Regions from separate parts of the Homo sapiens genome. Here region 2 is linked to region 1. The links are contacts of gene promoters, found by promoter capture Hi-C in human tissues and cell types (Jung and others, 2019). All regions are on one chromosome and are shown on one strand. Each heading gives the region's core, a stretch centred on a gene start or on the middle of the fragment in contact. The rest is flanking DNA. Distances are from core to core; before and after follow the strand shown.

Region 1 (4,359 bases), core at 1,366-3,865:
GTGTGTGGAAAAAGTCTTTCCTACCTGGCAATAGCTAGATTGCAACCAGCAAGGTCAACTGCAAAATGACTGTCACCTCTAATGTGGCAATTACGGTCCTCCCAAATGGGCTGCAGCTGACTCAAAGCCAATAATTTCTTTAATTTTTCCCTCCTCGTCTACAAGTTACTTTGGGAAACTTCATGATCAGCACTATTCTTTTTATGCTCTTAGGTGCTGACAGCAGAAAGGATTTTTGCCAAAGGCCCAAGCCAAGCTTTGGGGAACAGTGCCTTTCTCCCTAAAACCCAGGGACTGGGCTACGTTTCTGGGGTCTTGATAGAAGGATAAAATAAAATTTCTTCCTATGAAATGTTGATTCTCGCTTTCCCCCTTACCACAGAATTCAGGTTCTTCATTCACAGCAGCCATGTGGTTGGTTAAAAAAAACACCTCCTCAGACACCCTTTTAGCTAAATTGGCCATGTGACACAGTGAGATGGAAGCAGAGGTCTAGGGAGCAGGCTCCAGGGAAGGCAGGAAAGTATTGTTTTCCTGATAAAAAGGGGCAGACTTAGGTGACAGGCGCCTTCCATCTTTTTGTCCTTTGACCTTCCTCTTATTTCCCTGCCTGAGTTGTGGATTCACTGTTTGGAGCTGGAGTCATCCCACACTAAGGATGGCAAAACAGAATGCTGAAAAGGGAGCTGCTGATGACTCCCTTGAGCAGCTGTACTAGCCTGGGATGGCCAACTTCTAGGTTTCATTGTTACTTAAGAAATATAAATCCCTATTTGGTTAAGACACTGTAGTCACTTTAGTCAGCCTTCTATAAAATTCAGGCTAACAATTGTAACTGATACATAGGTAATAGCTAGAGGGAAAGCTACTTAATCTGAGCAACTTACATTTTTCTTTTCATGGGAACTTAGCTTTATGGAGTTGACATTATCTCTCATTTTACTTTGGCTGCCAGGGAACTCAGAGTCAAATGTGGTGCCCAAATATCTACCATATAATCCTGGAAATATACCTAATATTATGTCTATGTTATATGTGTTCTCAGACTCAGCCTCTTCTCTTTCTAAAGTATTTATAAAACTAGTTATAACTTTCTATTTGATTTATACTGTATTATTTTATTGTGTACATTTTCCATGCTTTAAATTTTTGTGGAATGAAACAAGGTATACATTTGTGTGTATACACGTATATGTACACATACATACAAAGTGTATATATGTTAAGTGGTTTCTATGTGCTCACTCATTGTACTGAGCACTTGTTAATGAGTCGTGAATCCCCCACCATGGTCTTCTACCCTTGGTACATTATGCTCCCATTTTACAGACAAAGAAACTGAGACTTAGAAAGACTAAGCTGCTTAGCCAAGGTTGTATCCAAGTGGGTAGATCAGTTTTTTAAAGCCTTCAGACCCAAATTTGCTGAAGTGTTTTCTGTTTTTCTTTGAAACAAATTAAAATTTTAACAATTTTTTACCTGTTGCTACCCTAAAAGAAGTCGACGTCAGGTTTTTCTCTGATTATGTTTCTCATTGCGAGTCTACTGCTGTGATTTCCCCTTAACATTCTTTTTGTGAATGAATTGTAGAAATCAGAAATGGGAAAGGCTTGAGGCTTGTCGGCCATGAAATATACATGTTGAAGAGCAAAGGAGAGAAGTGCTTGGCCGACAAGGCTAAGACCTCACACTTAGGAGTGACCCAAATGTTTCCTGAAGATGGTAGAAGAGTGAAAAATCCCACAGGCTCTGTAAGTGACATCAGAAGAGCAAGAGTTGGGGGAGAGCGTGAAGCTGGAAAGGGAAAGTTTTCAAGTGATGAAGATGAGTAAATGATGCATTCCTGGACTCTTCTCATTTCATAGGCCGGAGGGGCTAAAGGAATTGGATTGGGAGCCAACAAGAATTTGTTTAGAGGTTTCTAGTATAATATAATTACTTCAACACATATGTATTGAGTGCCTTCTATGCTCCAGATCCTGTTCTAGGCACTGGGGATACATCAGTGAATAAAATAGACAAAAATCCCAGCTCCATGGAGCTTATATTCTAGCAAGGGGAGAAAAATAACATAGATAAGAGAATAAGTTCTGTAGTATGTTAGAAAATAGATGTTAAGGAAGAAAGAAAAAGTAGAGCAGGAATGACTGCTTAGTGGACATTCACGAGGTTCCAGTGTGCTGAGCATTTTACATGCATTATTTCATTCAATCTTTGCAAGAGTGTTAGAGGATTCCCATGTCACAGATGAAGAAACTGAGGTTGAGTAAAGTGAAGTGATTTGTCAAAGGTCATGCTTCAGTAATAGTAGAAGCAGGATTGGAACTCCTCAGACTGTTGACCACACCCACGTGGCATGAGAAAGGCACCAGGGGCCACCATCTTCCTTACCCATCTCCCATCCTTGTCTGAAGGTGGGTTGAAGCGTCGCCCTTTGGTCATTCTCTCCAGGAAGCTGAATGTGGCTGAGATTGGCTCCCTCACCTCTCCATAAGCTCTACATGTCTGGGAAGCTGCTTCCTAAACTTCATAAGCTCTACACGTCTGGGAAGCTCCTCCTCCTCCTTGTTCCTGATCTTTACTTCTCAGCCTCTTCCAGGAGGGGAAGGTGCGGGTGCCCATTGTTGTCATGGAATGGGAACTCACCCATCACAATGGGCAAAGGAGTCTTCTAAACCCTCGGAGGATTCTTGCCACTGGTTCCTTGCAGCTGTGACTCCCCAGGGTAAGAGGCAAAGAGCCACCAGGTCCCAGCTGAGGAAGCCCTGTGGTCAGCTCAGACAGGTAAGGACAAGATGATTTGGGGGTAATGGCAAACATTTTGTACCCTCTCAATTTTTGAACCAATAATGTTTGAGTTGCATGTCCCCCTGGCAACTGTATGTTCCAACCTGTTAGTTTTCAGAGAAGTAAGTTGAGTCCCAGGCTGGGGGTGACCTTGTCTGCATCAGTGGCACTGCTGCACCCAGGACCCACGCTGCCTACCATCTCCTTCTGTGGCAGCCTCTGTGTCTCAGCTCGGACCCAACCTCAGGACTCACTCACAGCCACTCTTACCTGCCTGGCACAGCATTGAGACCATGAGGAAGTAACACTCATGAATAATTATTATATGCCAAGTGCTGTGCTAAACTAAACATTCACCTGTTTTTATTTTTTCTCCACGACAACCTTCAACATTTACAAATAGGAAACAAGGGACATACAGCAATGGATGGGATGCCACAAGTCCCAGCAAGGTCATGGGCCAGCTCCAGAGCTCATGAGCCTTGCCAAGGGCCACCTGGCATCCCCAGGGCTGCAAAGGCTGCTCGTGAAATCTGGCGTTTCTCTCGGGGCCTGGACACACACGTCCTGCCTCCCTTCTACTCAGTAAGGTGTTTTCTGCTTTTCTTTCTTTCTTTTTTTTTTTAATGTTGTGTCTTGCCAATTCTCTTGGCTACTCCGTGTGAATACGAGAGTAAACACATGCAGGACAACCTGTCCAGCTGCTCTCTCACTCAGAAATTGTGTCCTCCACCCTTTCCTCCTCCAGTCACCCTCCTAGGTTTTCCAAGGAGAGTTGCTGTAGTAGTGATAGAGGACCTTATCCACTGCCAGCACTGAAGGGCCAGAGGTGGCCCTTAGATGTGACACCGGAGATGCACAGGTCCTCTTGCACTATGATGCCAAAAGCCACATGGTAAGGAGAGGAGGAAAAGGTGGTGGGCCACCTCTTTTGGTGTTGCAGAGCTGCTGTACCAGGCAATACTGTTGTGTGTGGAGTAAACCCTTCCAGGATTTCTGCTACCTGCTGACAAACCCAGTGCAACAGACACTATTTTTCACCTTTACCAGGCATTGCCCACTGCTCTCCAAAGCCCAGGTGTAAAGAAATACTCCCAGCAGCAGCAGTGCAAGGGAGTTCTGTCGTCTCACAGCCTTGCCAAGACGCACTATATTGATTACGAACAAATTTGACTGGGACAGGAAACCCGAACTAACAGGGGCTTAAACATGATAGACATTTATTCTCTCTGCGTAGTGAAGTCCAGAGGGAAGTAGTCCAGGCTCGATATGGTGGCTCTGCTGTTCAGGATTCTCAGAGATGAGGCTCCCTCCCACCTACCACCACTCACCAGCTCCAGGGGGCAGCTGTCATCACTTGGCCCCAGATGGCATCTGCGTTCCAGGCAGCAGAATGCAGAAAGGGAAGTAGAGGGGAAAGGGCGTGTCCCCATGGATCATATTGGGCCAACCCCAGTTGGCTCAGCTGCTTCCTCCTAAGGAAGTTTCCTGGCAGCTGCCATACAACACTTCCTCTCGTGGGCCAGGACTTCAACCACATAGTCAGGCCTCACTGTAAAGGGAGCTGCAAAG
Region 2 (4,359 bases), core at 1,351-3,850, 650 kb before region 1:
ACTCCCCAACGATAGCCAGAGAGGTCTGTTCCTTACAGCTCAGTCCCGGAGAGGAGGCTGTCCCCAGCCTGCCAGGTCCCCCTTCCTGGCTGGTGTGCTCACATGGACCAGGGCTCTCTCAGCATGCGGATTAGGAGCTAAATAAAACCCTAAAGCTTTGTTCCATGTGACATCTCGTTAGACTGATGAAGCCGGTGGCTTGCTCTATCCAGCCCTCCCAAGCTGCAACTGGGATTTACTTCCACACTGACGCTCAGGTTTATACTCCCTCTTCCAAGCACCAGGGTACTTTTAGGATGAACCCTGCCTCCCCCTCTGGAAGGGGCTGTTCCCACCCCTGCCACTGATTCCTGAGAGGTAACAGAAGCAAAATAAGGCTGCTTCAATGTCAGTCCACTCTTAATCCACCGTGATGAAACGTTAATCCATGGCACAGCTAAACACAAATTAAACATGGATAAACAGAAAAAGGTCCACACGTGATCCTAGGCCATGGATGCCTAGCCCAAAAAAGGGCCAGCTCTGAAACCTGATGCTTTGATAATACTGAGATCTGGCTTTGAGACGACTCTTTGGTTGTGAATCAAACAGGTTTCCGAGCTCAAGCCCAAATGCATTCTTTACCTTATTACTGTGAAACACAGATGGGCTCATGCTGCCGGGGGGCCGGGGAGTGCCAGGGAAGGGCGTGTGTAATCTGGGATTTAAAGTGACTGCAACAGAGGTCACAGGAACAGGAGGATGGGTGACTAAACCTTACACTGCAAAGCAGAACTGGGAAGCGGCTGCATCTGAATATCTCATCTTCCTTTAGGTATGTCAGGATGAAAAGCCTAATTCCAGCAGGCTTAGATCCTGCAGATGCTTTTCCATATTCACATGGATTAAGCTTTCAGAGTCCACAAAGGACTTCAGGCGCAATAATGCAAAGAACAGCAGTTATTTAGATAAAGGAGTGCCCCGAAGTATTAAGACATTTCCTTAAACATATGGAACAGTACCAGAGAAGCAACATCCCAGACTAACACGGTAGGTTCCTGCCCTGCAACTGCAGGATTCCCATGACAAAGAATTCATAGCAAAAATAAAAGCCGGTGATTAGGAAGCTACAAAGGCTGTATACATTGAAAGCACTTTAAAATGAGACAACATGCATACCTGCAAGCATTAAACCCGAGTGCTGTTCCTCACTCACATCTCTCTCAATCTAGCACTCTACTAGAATCTTCTAAAGAGAAATACCAGTCTTTAAATTTTTTTTTTTTGAGACACAGTTTTTTTTTTTTTTTGAGACCGAGTTTTGCTCGTTTCTCAGGCTGGAGTGCAATGGCGCGATCTCGGCTCACTGCAGTCTCCGCCTCCTGGGTTCAAGCAATTCTCCTGCCTCAGCCTCACAAGTAGCTGGGATTACAGGTGTGCACCACCACACCCAGCTAATTTTTATATTTTTAGTAGAGCCTACCATGTCTCTACTCTATCTACTTCACCATGTTGGCCAGACTGGTCTCAAACTCCTGACCTCAGGTGATCCACCCACCTCAGCCTCCCAAGGTGCTGGGATTACAGGCATGAGCCACTGCGCCTGGCCAGCGCCTCAGGATTAAGCCACCTTGCCAATTTCTTTCCTCCCCTTGTTGTAATGAACAACATGACCTTATGTGGTGTTAGTACTATGCTACCCCACTCATGGTGCATGCACACCCCTCAAAGATGGGTGGATAAACTTGGAGCATTCCGGGAAAATCCCCCATGCCAAGTCTTTTTTGTAGCAGGGTGAGGTAGCTCTGTTGACTCACCAGCTTCTTTGCTATCTGGTTTTCAGCTCAGCAAGTTCTCAAATGTAAACAGGGCTCTATAGAAGAATGTTTACCCGGTAGCGCCTAAGAAACCAGTAATGATTCTTCAGAGAGGTTACTGAGCTGGTGTCCAAGGGGTGATCGCAGGAGCAGGGCAGATGTGGGCAGATGCGCTTTGGGGCAGCATCAGCCTCCCATTGAACCAGGAGGCCCAGCTTCCATTTCTATCAACTTTCAACCTGTTCTGCTTGGAAACCACCCAAACTCGCACAGCCTTGGCTCTGAGATTTGACAAATATTATGACAGATGTTTTCCTGCGCTAGGTAAAAACACCTGTAACTGGACTCACTTTTCCAAACACTCTGGTTACACAAACACCACACACACACACACACACACACCACACTCCAGTCTTTTAGAAAGGACTGCTTTTCTTAAAAATTCTCATGTTGACTAAAAGTGAGATGGGACCCATTAGAGTAATACATCTCACGGGCTTAATTTTTTAATTCTGCCAAAACCCTCACTATAGAAATTATGTCAAGTAAAAATAAGATGATTGTGTAACATAGCTGTGTCGGGGAGAGAGGCGATGTCCACCCAAAGCCAATTCTGAAGTCCCTGTGCGACACAAGGTGTCAATTAACAACAGAGACCTACAGAGATCCAGACAATTCCAGAGATGGATCCAGACAGTTCCAGAAGAGCTGGGAAGAGAGGCCAGGATGGGGATGATCAGTGGGTACCCTCCGACGGAGCAGTCTTTGGACAAACTGCCAACAAGCATTTCATGTTCCCATTGGAATAATCATGCAGGAAACTGCTTGAAATGAGAGAGAAAACATGACTCTGGGGTCTAATTCTCACTTTTATAGAAAAAGAAGAACAGGTGGGATCAGTGAGTCTGAAGGTTGCAGTAACATGAGGGCCATTTGGCTCAATGGTGTGTCCCTCTTAACTGTGTTGTCACCCGCCCACTTGGTGGGCTGCCAGGTTTGTCTCAAGGCCTTCTCAGGGAATAGCTCATTCTCAGGAGGCAACTTAAGTTCCCAACTGAAGGAACTTAAGGAACAGCTTCCCCAGGGGGGTCCTGCACCTGCCTGGGCTTCCATTCCCTGATCCTGCCTCCACCAACACAAAGGGCCAGGGCAGCTCTGAAGGTGATAGCGGAAATAACATCTCAGGAGGCTCTTCAGCGCCTGCTGCATCCCAGGACGGAGCCACCACAGTGCCCTCTACGTCTCCCACAGCGAGCGCTTCCCTAGGGAGGCTGCAGAAGTTAGCGGGTAACACGGTTTTCTGGCAGACACAGGGCAGAAAAATCGGCCTATGGCATACCCATTTCCTGCTTTTAAATGTGGACAGCCTGTGCTGGATTTTTGTCTGCTTCTGTCAAGTTAAGTGTTGTGGAATTTGTGCCATTAAAAAAGTTTTCTTGGGCCGGGTGCCGTGGCTCATGCCTGTAATCCCAGCACTTTGGGAGACTGAGTGGGGCGGATCACCTGATGTCAGGAGATGGAGACCATCCTGGCCAACATGGCGAAACCCTGTCTCTACTAAAAATACAAAAATTAGCCGGGCGTGGTGGCGGGTGCCTGTAATCCCAGCTACTCGGGAGGCTGAGGCAGGAGAATGGCGTGAACCCGGGAGGTGCAGGTTGCAGTGAGCCGAGACAGAACCATTGCATTCCAGCCTGGGCAACAGAGCAAGACTCCATTTCAAAAAAAAAAAAAAAAAAAAAAAAAGTCTTTCCTCTCATCAACCCCCTACCCCCTGCCCCCGAACGTCCTCAACCCAAAGTAGCCAAGTTGGCTAATCTAACGCAAAGGGTGGGAGGCCACACCAAATGCACTGGTTACATAGCAAACACAAAGTCTGGCTGGGTTTTAAAGCAGCCTTCGTCTAAATCACGCAAGCACACAGCAACAATTAGCAAAACTGCCCAGACATCGTTTCAGGTATCAAAGGGGCTGAGTGCACCGTGCACCCTTGCTTGCACACTGAGTGCTCTCACCAATTTCTGGGCCTGGAGCGCGGAGGCTTGGGCACCCACGCAACGCGCCAAAGGAAGTCAGGAGAGTGACGTCGAGTGTCTGAACCAACCCAGCCTTTTTCAGATTAGCTGCATCCTAAGAAGCCCCAGTCCTCATGTCTCTCAGTATTTAGCCATGGTAAGTGAAAACAAAGGCCTGCACATTGCTTCTGACTCAATTTCTTAACTATATTGTAAAGCTTCCTGGGAACTGCATTATGAAAATTAGACCACTCATTATGGGGTTTCAAAAGAAAAAAAAAAACAAGCCCATTCTCTTGCACTGCCCATTTTGAAAGTGTTGGTGGAGCCAAAGTGTGCAACGGGACCCCAGCTGGGATGCAGGACAGGCCTCACCTTGGACCATGTCAGGATTCCCATTTCTAGCAATGGAACACACTCAACCTCAAGAGGCTGTGCTCAGCTCTGGACAGCACCCGGCACAAGACGCTCCGCACAGTAGGTGCTCAATGAACACCACCCCTTCTGCTCTTTAGCAGCTTTTCCTGCAGATTCCCAAAGTCTCCACC

What was found. The method cuts DNA at HindIII sites, captures the fragments that hold promoters and counts their contacts. A contact is called where the count stands out against the background at its distance.
Region 2: a contact is called between a fragment that was not itself captured here and the fragment with the promoter of TEX36 in region 1, in 1 of the 25 tissues and cell types used here (IMR-90 fibroblasts).

Annotation. Positions count from the first base shown.
Region 1 is chr10:125,680,548-125,684,906 of GRCh38, forward strand. It overlaps TEX36 (testis expressed 36), which reads right to left and starts at 2,616. Exons shown (of 4, transcript NM_001128202.3): 1 at 2,392-2,616. The coding sequence starts at 2,442. LOC283038 (a long non-coding RNA gene) reads left to right here and starts at 2,696. Exons shown (of 5, transcript NR_033848.1): 1 at 2,696-2,784. The HindIII fragment of the contact is 13,590 bases long and covers 1-4,359 here.
Region 2 is chr10:125,027,972-125,032,330 of GRCh38, forward strand. All of the region lies in intron 3 of CTBP2 (C-terminal binding protein 2), which reads right to left. Among named protein-coding and RNA genes, the nearest start is that of MIR4296, 2.7 kb to the right of the region's middle. The HindIII fragment of the contact is 5,221 bases long and covers 1-4,359 here.